Linked DNA regions of Homo sapiens: region 1 is linked to region 2. Evidence: promoter capture Hi-C in human tissues and cell types (Jung and others, 2019). All regions are on one chromosome and are shown on one strand. Each heading gives the region's core, a stretch centred on a gene start or on the middle of the fragment in contact. The rest is flanking DNA. Distances are from core to core; before and after follow the strand shown. Region 1 overlaps LOC105376454 (a long non-coding RNA gene). Region 2 holds the start of C10orf67 (chromosome 10 open reading frame 67).

Region 1 (4,891 bases), core at 370-2,869, 240 kb before region 2:
TTTATTCTGACACAGCTTTCACAGGACAACCAACAACCTCATTTGAAGTAAATTCCTTAGTCTGTTCCAATAAGAATAATTGTGTTGGAGCTGTGCTCCCTGCTCTAAAGAGGGCAAATCCATTTACTGCTGCAGAAAAGTCTCTTGGATGGATCTAACCTCTTTGCTTTGTGGGTTCTGATGCTGCTGAGTAAGCCAATGATATTTCAAGTTGCTGCTTGTTTGGACACAGTTGGGCAGAACTCTGTAGAGTGCTTTTTTCTTCAACGACTCAATCATGACTGCAAAAACAGCATCAGTATCAGAGATGTGGAGTAGTAACTCAGCTTGACAGCACTGAACTAACGGACATCCATCATTGGATTGTTCACACATCTTTCACAATTGAGTGTCTGACTTTAAAAGGAATTGTCATATAGTCTTTAGCATGTCAGTAGCATTCATCTGTAGCAATCTGTAGTGTTTATCTGTAGTTTAAATCCAAAAAGAAAAGAAAAATTAATCTTTCATGCAAGGCTGCTTTTGGAACAAAATTAATAATGGCTGCAATGTGCAGAATGATTCTCTCATGTTGTGTAGGCTAAATCAGACTAATTTAATTTTTTTGCAGTAATGGCTTAAAATATTGCAGAAGAAACATTTGAAACACTGTGAACATGATACCACTATACAACCTATTTACCAATCTCTTTTAGAGAGTGCTCACCAAGATTATTCTTGGCTCAATGATGTGTTTGCTTTCCCTCATAAATCTAACACTGTTTTTTCAGATTCATCCATTGTCATTTTTGGTGAATTCTAATTGGCTCCCACTGAGGCTTGGCAGCCTCCAAACTGATCATATGCCAGTTTAATTGACTCCAGGGAATATTTAACAAATTGTTCACTATTTCACTGTGCACTGAAGGATAGCTGCAACTATTCTTTTTTCCTGTCATCACCATTGGGGCCATTATGACAACCCTGTACATGTTTTATTTTGTGGCATAATTTTCTGTGCTGGAAAAATAATAACGCTTCACCACCTCCATCTTCTCTACCATTGAAACTATGATGAGATCAAAGATTGACTCAAGCTAATACATGGAAAAATAATGATTGCTAGCCTGTCAATTTGTAGAGCAATTTGTAACTCAATTCCTTATAATGCTGGACACCTACAAAGATGTATTGCAATGAAATCATTGTGTGATAATTCATTCCATCCTTCTAAAATGAACTTTTAATCAGCTAAGAAAATGTAATAGATCTATTCATCAGGTGTGTTTAATGAATGAGTTTTAAATAACACAGGATCATAGGAAACATCTGTGAAATCTTTGAATACAAGCTTTGTTTCTTTAAAAACAAATCCGTTAGAGAAAAATATTGAACTTCATCACATTGTTTATAGACTACAAAGATATGACTTCCAGGTAATAATTTATAAAGCAATGAAATGAAAATATGCAAATTTTCAAGAAGCATTCAACATAAGAGGCTTTTCTTGTTTAGAAAAGTTGTCTCTTTAATCCCTTCAATTCAGTGAGTTAACACTGAGCAATGAAAGGTACTCCATGTTGCAGAGGAAAACTGTGAGTTATAGCTCTGAATTTGGACAAACACACAAGCTGGAGGGACAGATGGGGGAGCCGCATGCAATCATCAGCAGAGCCCTCTCCTTAAATGAGAATATGCCATAGTCAGAGATAGGAAGATATTTCCTCTGCCGATATATAGGGAACAAAGAGTACTATGACCATGACATTGTGAATGAGTCCAAAGGACAAATGGCAAAAGGTGCACAGAGTTGTTACAACTTTCATAATCTAATCTGCCTTCCTCAAATGAGAGTTTAGAATTATAAAGCTACATGGCCATCCAGTTGGCACAAAAGCGCACTGCTATAACCATTGATTCATTTCTTGACTTCTTTTTTTCTTTTGCCAGCGCTTGTCTTTTAGCTATATTCCAGTTGCAGACCACAATTCTACCTTTCACTGTGTTCATTCTGCTGGAAACCTGGCAGGACCCATCACCCCATGCTTACTGGACCACATCAATTTTGGAGCCAGCTGCTCTAACATTTGGCAACATTAGGATCCACGGAATAACCCCTACAGTATCTGCAGTGGCTCTACCCATGTTAGCACCTATAAAAATAACAGTTACTGAGCACCAACTATGTGCCGAGCACTACTTTAGAAACTTATGATACATTAAGGAACAGACAAGGATACTGAGGTGTCTGACTTTGAGCCAAAATCCTACATGTGCTCTTTCAAGACAGACCTTAGCCAATCACAAAGACTTCACCTGGCAGGCATCACAAGGCATGAGCGGGAGGAGTGATCCTCCCCTTACTAGAGTTGGTGCACAGCCAAAGCGTTGCATCCTCTGAAGGAAGCTGCACTCAGGGACTCAGGTGCATGCCCCTGGCTGGACATGCTCTTACACATACCCATTTTCCTAGCCTAGGTGACTCCAGTTGGAGGCCTGCTTACCTTCGGGAAGCGGGTGGGAGGGCTCAGCTGAGACACTGTTCAGATGCCTCTGCTAAGACTTCCTAATGGGTGTGGGGCAAGAGGAGGGGCTTAAAGCTAAAGACACCTTTTTCCACTGTGACTCAGTTCTCAGTACTTTTCCCACTCCTAGCCCTTCTCTGCCTCCTCCAATATCCCACTCCATAAAACAGCAGGAGCCTTTTGTTCAGTGTCCCTTTAGCAATGAGATGATTTTCCTGTGTGAACCATTCCTAGAAACACAAAAATGGAACAATGGGGAAGCCAGCACCTTCTCTTATTGGTCTCTTGCTTGTACTGTTGCAATAAGTAAATAAAGGCCTTATTGTTTGGCCCATTGTTCAAATTAACTACCTTGGCACCTGGCAGTTTTCAAACAGGTGCCTGCCTTTGAGAAGCTTACATTCTAGATTACTCCCTGACTTGGGTTAAGCATTAAAGATTGTTCAAAAGTAAACATCAGAAAAAATGGTAGCACATTAATTTGTTATTAGTAATTAGTAATGCAACTCAAATTTTAATTTCAGAACCACCAGTCAGGGAAGGTACAAAACACAAAATGCCCAAGGTTATAGGTTCTGGGAAGCATTTTCTGAAAAGTCTTAGTAGTCATGAGACATTATTACAGGCCATACATCTGGGAGTGATGGGTTCTCTTACAAAGGGAGGCAGCTGGTTATTTGATTTGGGTTGGTTTGATTCAGTTTGTTGGTTTTGCCTGCCCACATTTTTTTTCTTTCTGAAACTGCCTTTCTCCATCAGTGGGTACCAGACTTAGGTAAACTCACAGTTAAGGGCACAGTCTTCCAGACTGCTACATCTAGCCAAAACTTCTGACACCAACTGCAATGAGAATATCAAGCTTCAAAGTCTAAGGAAACAGACGTCACAGGTCTGGCCTCAATACAGACACCAATTGTGAGTTTTGGGGTCCCCCACCACCACCTTCGCTTCAGACCAACTGGCTACAAATTCAGGGGTTTCTATGACCACCCTTAGGCTTGATAATCTGCTAGGACAACTCAAAGAATTCAGACAAACACTATACTTATGATTACAGCTGTATTATAGCAAAAGAATATAAATTAGAAGCAGAGGCATATAGGATGAGTTCTGGGAGGATTCCAGATATAAAGTTTTCATCATCGTCAAGGATGCCTTACACTCCCATTATCAAAATGTAACAAAACACTCCCAGTACTGCCAACCTGGGAAACTCACCTGAACTTTAGTGTCCAGAGTGATTATTGCGGTTTTCTTACATAGGCATGACTTAATCATTGACCACATAGCTGAACTCAACTTCCAGCACCCTCTTCTTGTCTCTCTGGAGGTCAGACTTATATCCTGTGGCCCAAAGGCCCAATTCTGTAATCACACAGTTGGTCTTTCTGGAATGGCGATCCCACCACCCTGAGTCACCTCATTAGCATAAACTATCAGGTTTAGGTCTGAGGGGTCCACCATGAATAGCAAAGACACTCCCATCACTCTGGAAGTTCTAAAGGTTTAGGGGTTTCCTCCCAGGAGCTGGGACAAAGGTCAGTAATCTCTCTGGGTAAAGTTAATATTCTATTATGTAGTGGGGTTGCCAATCACCACCTGACTTAAGTTGGTCAGTTGGAACACCGCATTCTCTGACAATATTCAATGATTGCTTCAAGGTTGAGTATATCACAAGCTCAGTCATGAGATGCTCCCAGAGGCTCTGCCACCAGAGCTATCAAATAAACTTTTCTTTATACATTGGTGCTGTGATTTTGAGAAAAGAGTGTGTGTGTGTGTGTGTGTGTGTGTGTGTGTGAGAGAGAGAGAGAGAGACCTTGTATCTCTTGAGTCTCTGAATTTAGCCATGTGAAAAGAAAGTCTCCTAGACTTCTCAGTTATAAGAGCTGATAGATTCCTTTTTGTGGAGGGGGTTGTTAATTTAGCTGGTGAGATTTCTGTGACTTGCAATCAAAAGAGCCTTGTCTAATACCTGCAGGACTCTTGTAGGTGCAGAAGTGGAGCTGAAGGGTGGATACAAACAACCTTCAACAGCACGATGTTGCCCATGGCCTTTCTCGCTTTCTAGAAGTTTTCTAAAAGTACCACACAGCTTGTTTTCACTCTAAGTTAATCAAGGAATTAAAATGGATGTATACTCCACAAGAAAGTCATGACACTGACTGATTACTTGATACTTTTAAAACCATATAAAGTATATTTTAAACCAGGAAAAAATACTGGTGATTGGGGTTTTAATCCCTATTCAGCCCCACAACCATTCATTCAAATCAAAAGAAGTAATCCTATCAGTAAGCTTTGTTCATGGGAACATTGGATAAGCTGAATGGAAGGTTATTGCCACTCAAATCCAGCTTTAGAATTTGTAGTTCTAACCCTTTGAG
Region 2 (4,656 bases), core at 201-2,700:
GTAACTGACAAGAAGAGAAGTATTATGTAGTTAACGGTTTCAAAAACAATCATCATCATAGCGTGGTCTCTTAGACACTGAAATCTGAAACTCCTTGATATGCTATAGCAAGGTTTCAAACAAAGATGTTCTGTTCAATGCATGTTTTTGTGGGATGGCGTAACTATGCAGACTATATCAGTCAACAAATGCTGTACAGAGCTGACCAATGACTCATGAAATCTTCTGTGCGATCTCTCTCCTCAGTTTCAAACGATTCATTTATAATTGCACTAGGAAAATAGCCAACAGCTTGTCACATTCTTTACACTGTCTTGGCCCAGCTCTAAACAGATAGGTTTTGAAATTTTAACTTAAAATTTTAATCTTTATTTTAAAACATGTATATACATTGTGGTAAAATATCACTTAGGAAAAAGAAAAGTTATTGTAGATATATAAATTTCTTTCTTTTAAAATACCTTTTGATTATATAATAAAAATTCCCCAAATAAAGTCTGAAGTTAGAGTTTGTAATTAAAAACCTCCAAAGAGTAAAAGTAACTCTTTTTCTCTTCTCTCTTCATCTCCCCCCCAAAAAATAAGCCTTCACAGAAGATGATTTTGGCATTGGTTATGATGTTTTATTGGCATTTGGGGCTTTTAATCTTTGTCTTTAAACATAATAGTAGTGATAATGCTACAGTGCTTTTCTTTTCCTGTTTTGAGCTTCTAAATCCAGCTAAGTTATTTTCACTTACTGTTACAAGACAGAGAAGAGGCCGGGCTCTGTGGCTCACGCCTGTTATCTAGCACTTTGGGAGGCCGAGGGGGGCAGATTGCCTGAGCTCAGGAGTTAGACTAGCCTGCACAACGCGGTGAAACCCCGTCTCTACTAAAAATACAAAAAATTAGCCTGGCTTGGTGCTGTGTGCCTGTAGTCCCAGCTGCTCGGGAGGCTGAAGCAGGAGAATTGCTTGAACCCGGGAGGCGGAGGTTGCAGTGAGCCCAGATCGCGCCACTGCACCCCAGCCTGGGCGACAGAGCGAGACTCCGGCTCCAAAAAATAATAATAATAATAATAAGAGAGAGGAGAAAAAACTTATTTTTCTGTAGATAATATATTGAAATGCAGATGTAGTATAGACAGTTCTAAACCAGACAATGACATTTTAAAAATAAATTTAGCCAGTCGTTTACAGAAAAACAATGACATACTGATATTAGAATAGGTGTCTCCTATTAGTTGACAATGAGTGATACATAATTTAAAACTAAGGATGACAACAGTTTCACTATTAACTCTTATTATTGTAGAAACCTGGTAAAATTGAATTCCACACTAGATGGTATAGTTTAAGACTTAACGCCTCACATTCTGACCTCATTAAATAGAAATCTGTTTAATCTCTGCAAGGAAATATTTTGTCCAGGAACGCCTACGTTTGTGGCAGGTGGAGACAGCTTATTAGGCAGCCTGCTCTCCTCTTATGATGGCCTTGGTCCGGGATCGCAGGGCTCATTATGTCATGAGCATAGTTATTAGATGGGTTCACTGCTTTTCCTCCTCCTTGAGGGGGACCTTTGGCACACGCTGGGAGGCCATGAAAGCCAAGGCCACCGAGCTGCGGGTCTGCTGCGCGCGTAGGAAGCGAGAAGCTCGGGAATTCAAGCCCCCGCAAATGCGCGGGTCCACGAGGTAGGCTGAGCTCCGCGCCTGGGTAGAGGAGGAAGCGAGCAGGGTCCAGGGGCACGGCGGGAGGCTGAAGGGTTATTTACGGGGGTGCAGCTTTCCTCTGGGGTATCGCAGCAGCCTCCAGGCTGTGGGAGTCTTGTGGGGAAGCCTTGAGGCAGGCGGGACAGTGAAAGCGCAGCGGGGTGGCTTGGGAGCCCGCCCCGCCTCCTCCTCCCCCTCTCCACTCCCCTCCTCCCGCGCGTGCTCCCTCCCCATCCTCCTTTCCATCTCTTCCCCCTTCCCCCACTCCTTCCCCCTCTTCCTTCCCTCCACACCTCCTCTACTTCCTTTCCCTCTCCCCTTCCCCCCCATCCCCAACCTTCTCCCTATCCCCCTCCTCCCCATCTCCTTCCCCCTTCCCCTCCCCACCCCGTTCCCCACCCCCCTCCACTCGCGGCCCTCCCCGGCCCCCGCCCACGGATTCCCGCGCTTCGCCGGTTACCTGGGAGTCGCCATGGCAACGGACGCCGGGTTCCCGACTCCGACTCAGGAGAGCGAGCGGCTCCGCGGGAGGCGCACGTCCGGGGCTGCAATGGCGAACTGGGGCGACTCGCCTGAGACAGAGGAGGGCCGGAAGATCATGGAGGGCCTCGAGGCCTCTATTGAACAATTCCAGTTCAACCCCAGGTGACCAGCGGGAGAGGCAGTCCCCGCCGGCCCGCCCCGGAGCCCTCGCGCCCCGGCCCTCGCTCAACGCCTTTCCAGGCCCCTTGCTCCAGCCGCTGGGCTTCAGTTTTTTGTTTGTTTTTCGAGGGGATCACTGTCCGAAAAGAGCTGCAGTTTTCACTTCTTCAAGTGTATAGCTGGACACTAAGAGCACGGACTCTGGAGCCAGACTGCCCGGATTCCAGAATCTTGGCGACCCTCTCACAGGGGCCGTGAGTTAGGCGACTGACTGCTCTGTGCCTCAGTTTTCTCAGCGGGAAATAATCGTTCATGAATGATGAAGAGTAGTGCCTGCTTCATAGATCATAGTGAATATTAAATGAGCTAATCTAGGACACAGTACCCGTCTTAGTCCCCTCGGGCTGCTGTAACAAAACAACATAGGCTGGGTGGCTTATAAGCAACAGGAATTTGTTTCTCCCAGTTCTGGAGGCTGGGAAGCCCACTGGCAGATTCCAGGTCTGATGAGGGTCCCTTCTGCACAGACAGTACCTCCTGGCTGTGTCTCCACATGGTGCAACGGGCAAGGGAGTTTTCCCCCACGTCCCCCACACCCGCTCCCACCCTGCTTTTAGAAGGGCACTAATCCCATTTATAGGGCTCCACTTTCATGACCTAGTCACCTCCAAAGTCCACACCTGCTAATATCGTCATCTTGGGGGTTAGGATTTCAACATGAATTTTCAGGAGACACACTCAGACCATAGCAGAATCATAGAAGTGTTTGCCGATGTCATTATTTGCTATTCCTTGATCCTTGTTTAAAACCCGTCCCTTTCATAATCCTTTGCCCCCTGTGTTCTAGCTTTGTTGTTTATTTGGATAATGTAGAGCTGATGTTTCTGGGAAAATGCAAATTTCTTTCTAAAAACCTTTTCAAATCAGTAGGTAGCCAGAATTAGCTTAGCTGCTATGGGAGAACTTACCGTTGTATAAGGCAGGGGCCTCATGGTGCCAGGTGGGCTGGCTTAGGGGCAAGCCCCTCACACAGACACAGCTCCAGGGTGAGAAGAAGGGACCACAGGTGTCCTAGCCCAGCAGTGGGACTGACCCAGTGAGGCAATGCTCCTGGGCTGGGCTTCCCCAGCTTCACTGTATTCAATGGGTACGTTTGTTAAAATGGGTCAGGGTGCACGGGACCTGGTCTAGTGGTGGTTGTGAATAGCATTTATTAGAGGCAGCACGTGATAAACACCAGAGGCACACAGCGTCTACCCTGTTCTAGTGTTTGCTGATAGGAATGGTGTCCTGCCCTGGACTCCTTGGCATTCCATGGTGGGGTAGCTCCCAAAAAAAAATGCACTTGCCAGGCTCAAGAGCAGACCGATGGTGCCGGGTGCTCTTTGGCTGAACAAAAGAACCACTGATGCCCATATTCCTTCCTCTTCACCCAAAGTACTAGGGCGACTGAGCTGGTGCCTGGGTGTGAATGAGAGAGGCTCAGGTGCTGAACGTGGTCCACAAAGCAGACGAAAGCCCGGCCTTTGTGGAGTTTGCATCCTAGTCAGGAATTGATGATGAACTAGATAAACAAGTAAACTATGTAATAAGTTAGATAGTGGTTAGTGATAAGGAAGAAACCGAACATGGGGAGGGAGAAGAGGAAAGTGAGTAAGTGTGTGAGAGTGTGTGTGTGTGTGTGTGTGTGGCAAGTGGGGAGGGAGCTGTGATTTAATTTTTGTTTTGTTTTGTTTTGTTTTTTAGAGTCAGGGTCTCACTCTGTCACCCAGGCTGGAGTGTAGTGGCACAATCATGGCTCAGTGCAGCCTTGAACTCCTGGAGTCAAGCGATCCCTCCACCTCAGCCTCCTGAGTAGCTGAGACGACAAGCACACCCCAGCCTGCCTGGCTAATTTATTTTTAATACAGGGTCTTGCTGTGTTGCCCAGGCTGGTCTCAAACTCCTGGGCTCAAGCAGTCCTCCAGCCTCGGCCTCCCAAAGTACTGGGATTACAGGCATGAGCCACCATACCCGGCCTGGACTGCAGATTTTAGAAATGGTGATCAGGGAAGGCTTCACTGAGAAAATGACACTGGGGTGAAGACTTGCAGGCTTGAGGGGGGAGCCCTAAGGATCTATCAGGCTAGCAAGTGTTCCAGGCAGAGAGAACACTGGGTAGAAAGATGGTGCCTGGATGTCCTAGGAGCAGCAAGGAGGCCAGTGTGGCTGGAGCAGAGAGGGAGAATAGTGGAGGTGAAGTCAGAGGGAAGGGGGACGGTGCCTGTGGCGAGGGACTTTAGACTACCTTAAGGACTTCAGCTTTTACTTTGAGATGG

What was found. The method cuts DNA at HindIII sites, captures the fragments that hold promoters and counts their contacts. A contact is called where the count stands out against the background at its distance.
Region 1: a contact is called between a fragment that was not itself captured here and the fragment with the promoter of C10orf67 in region 2, in 4 of the 25 tissues and cell types used here (adrenal gland, hippocampus, small bowel and 1 more).

Annotation. Positions count from the first base shown.
Region 1 is chr10:23,581,324-23,586,214 of GRCh38, reverse strand. LOC105376454 (a long non-coding RNA gene) reads right to left here. Exons shown (of 9, transcript XR_930754.3): 9 at 1-467. Among named protein-coding and RNA genes, the nearest start is that of OTUD1, 140 kb to the right of the region's middle. The HindIII fragment of the contact is 4,928 bases long and covers 1-4,083 here.
Region 2 is chr10:23,341,591-23,346,246 of GRCh38, reverse strand. C10orf67 (chromosome 10 open reading frame 67) reads left to right here and starts at 1,450. Exons shown (of 16, transcript NM_001371909.1): 1 at 1,450-1,678. The coding sequence starts at 1,473. C10orf67-AS1 (C10orf67 antisense RNA 1) reads right to left here and starts at 2,290. Exons shown (of 2, transcript NR_155752.1): 1 at 2,157-2,290; 2 at 1,086-1,823. RefSeq lists a silencer at 33-327. The HindIII fragment of the contact is 15,239 bases long and covers 1-4,656 here.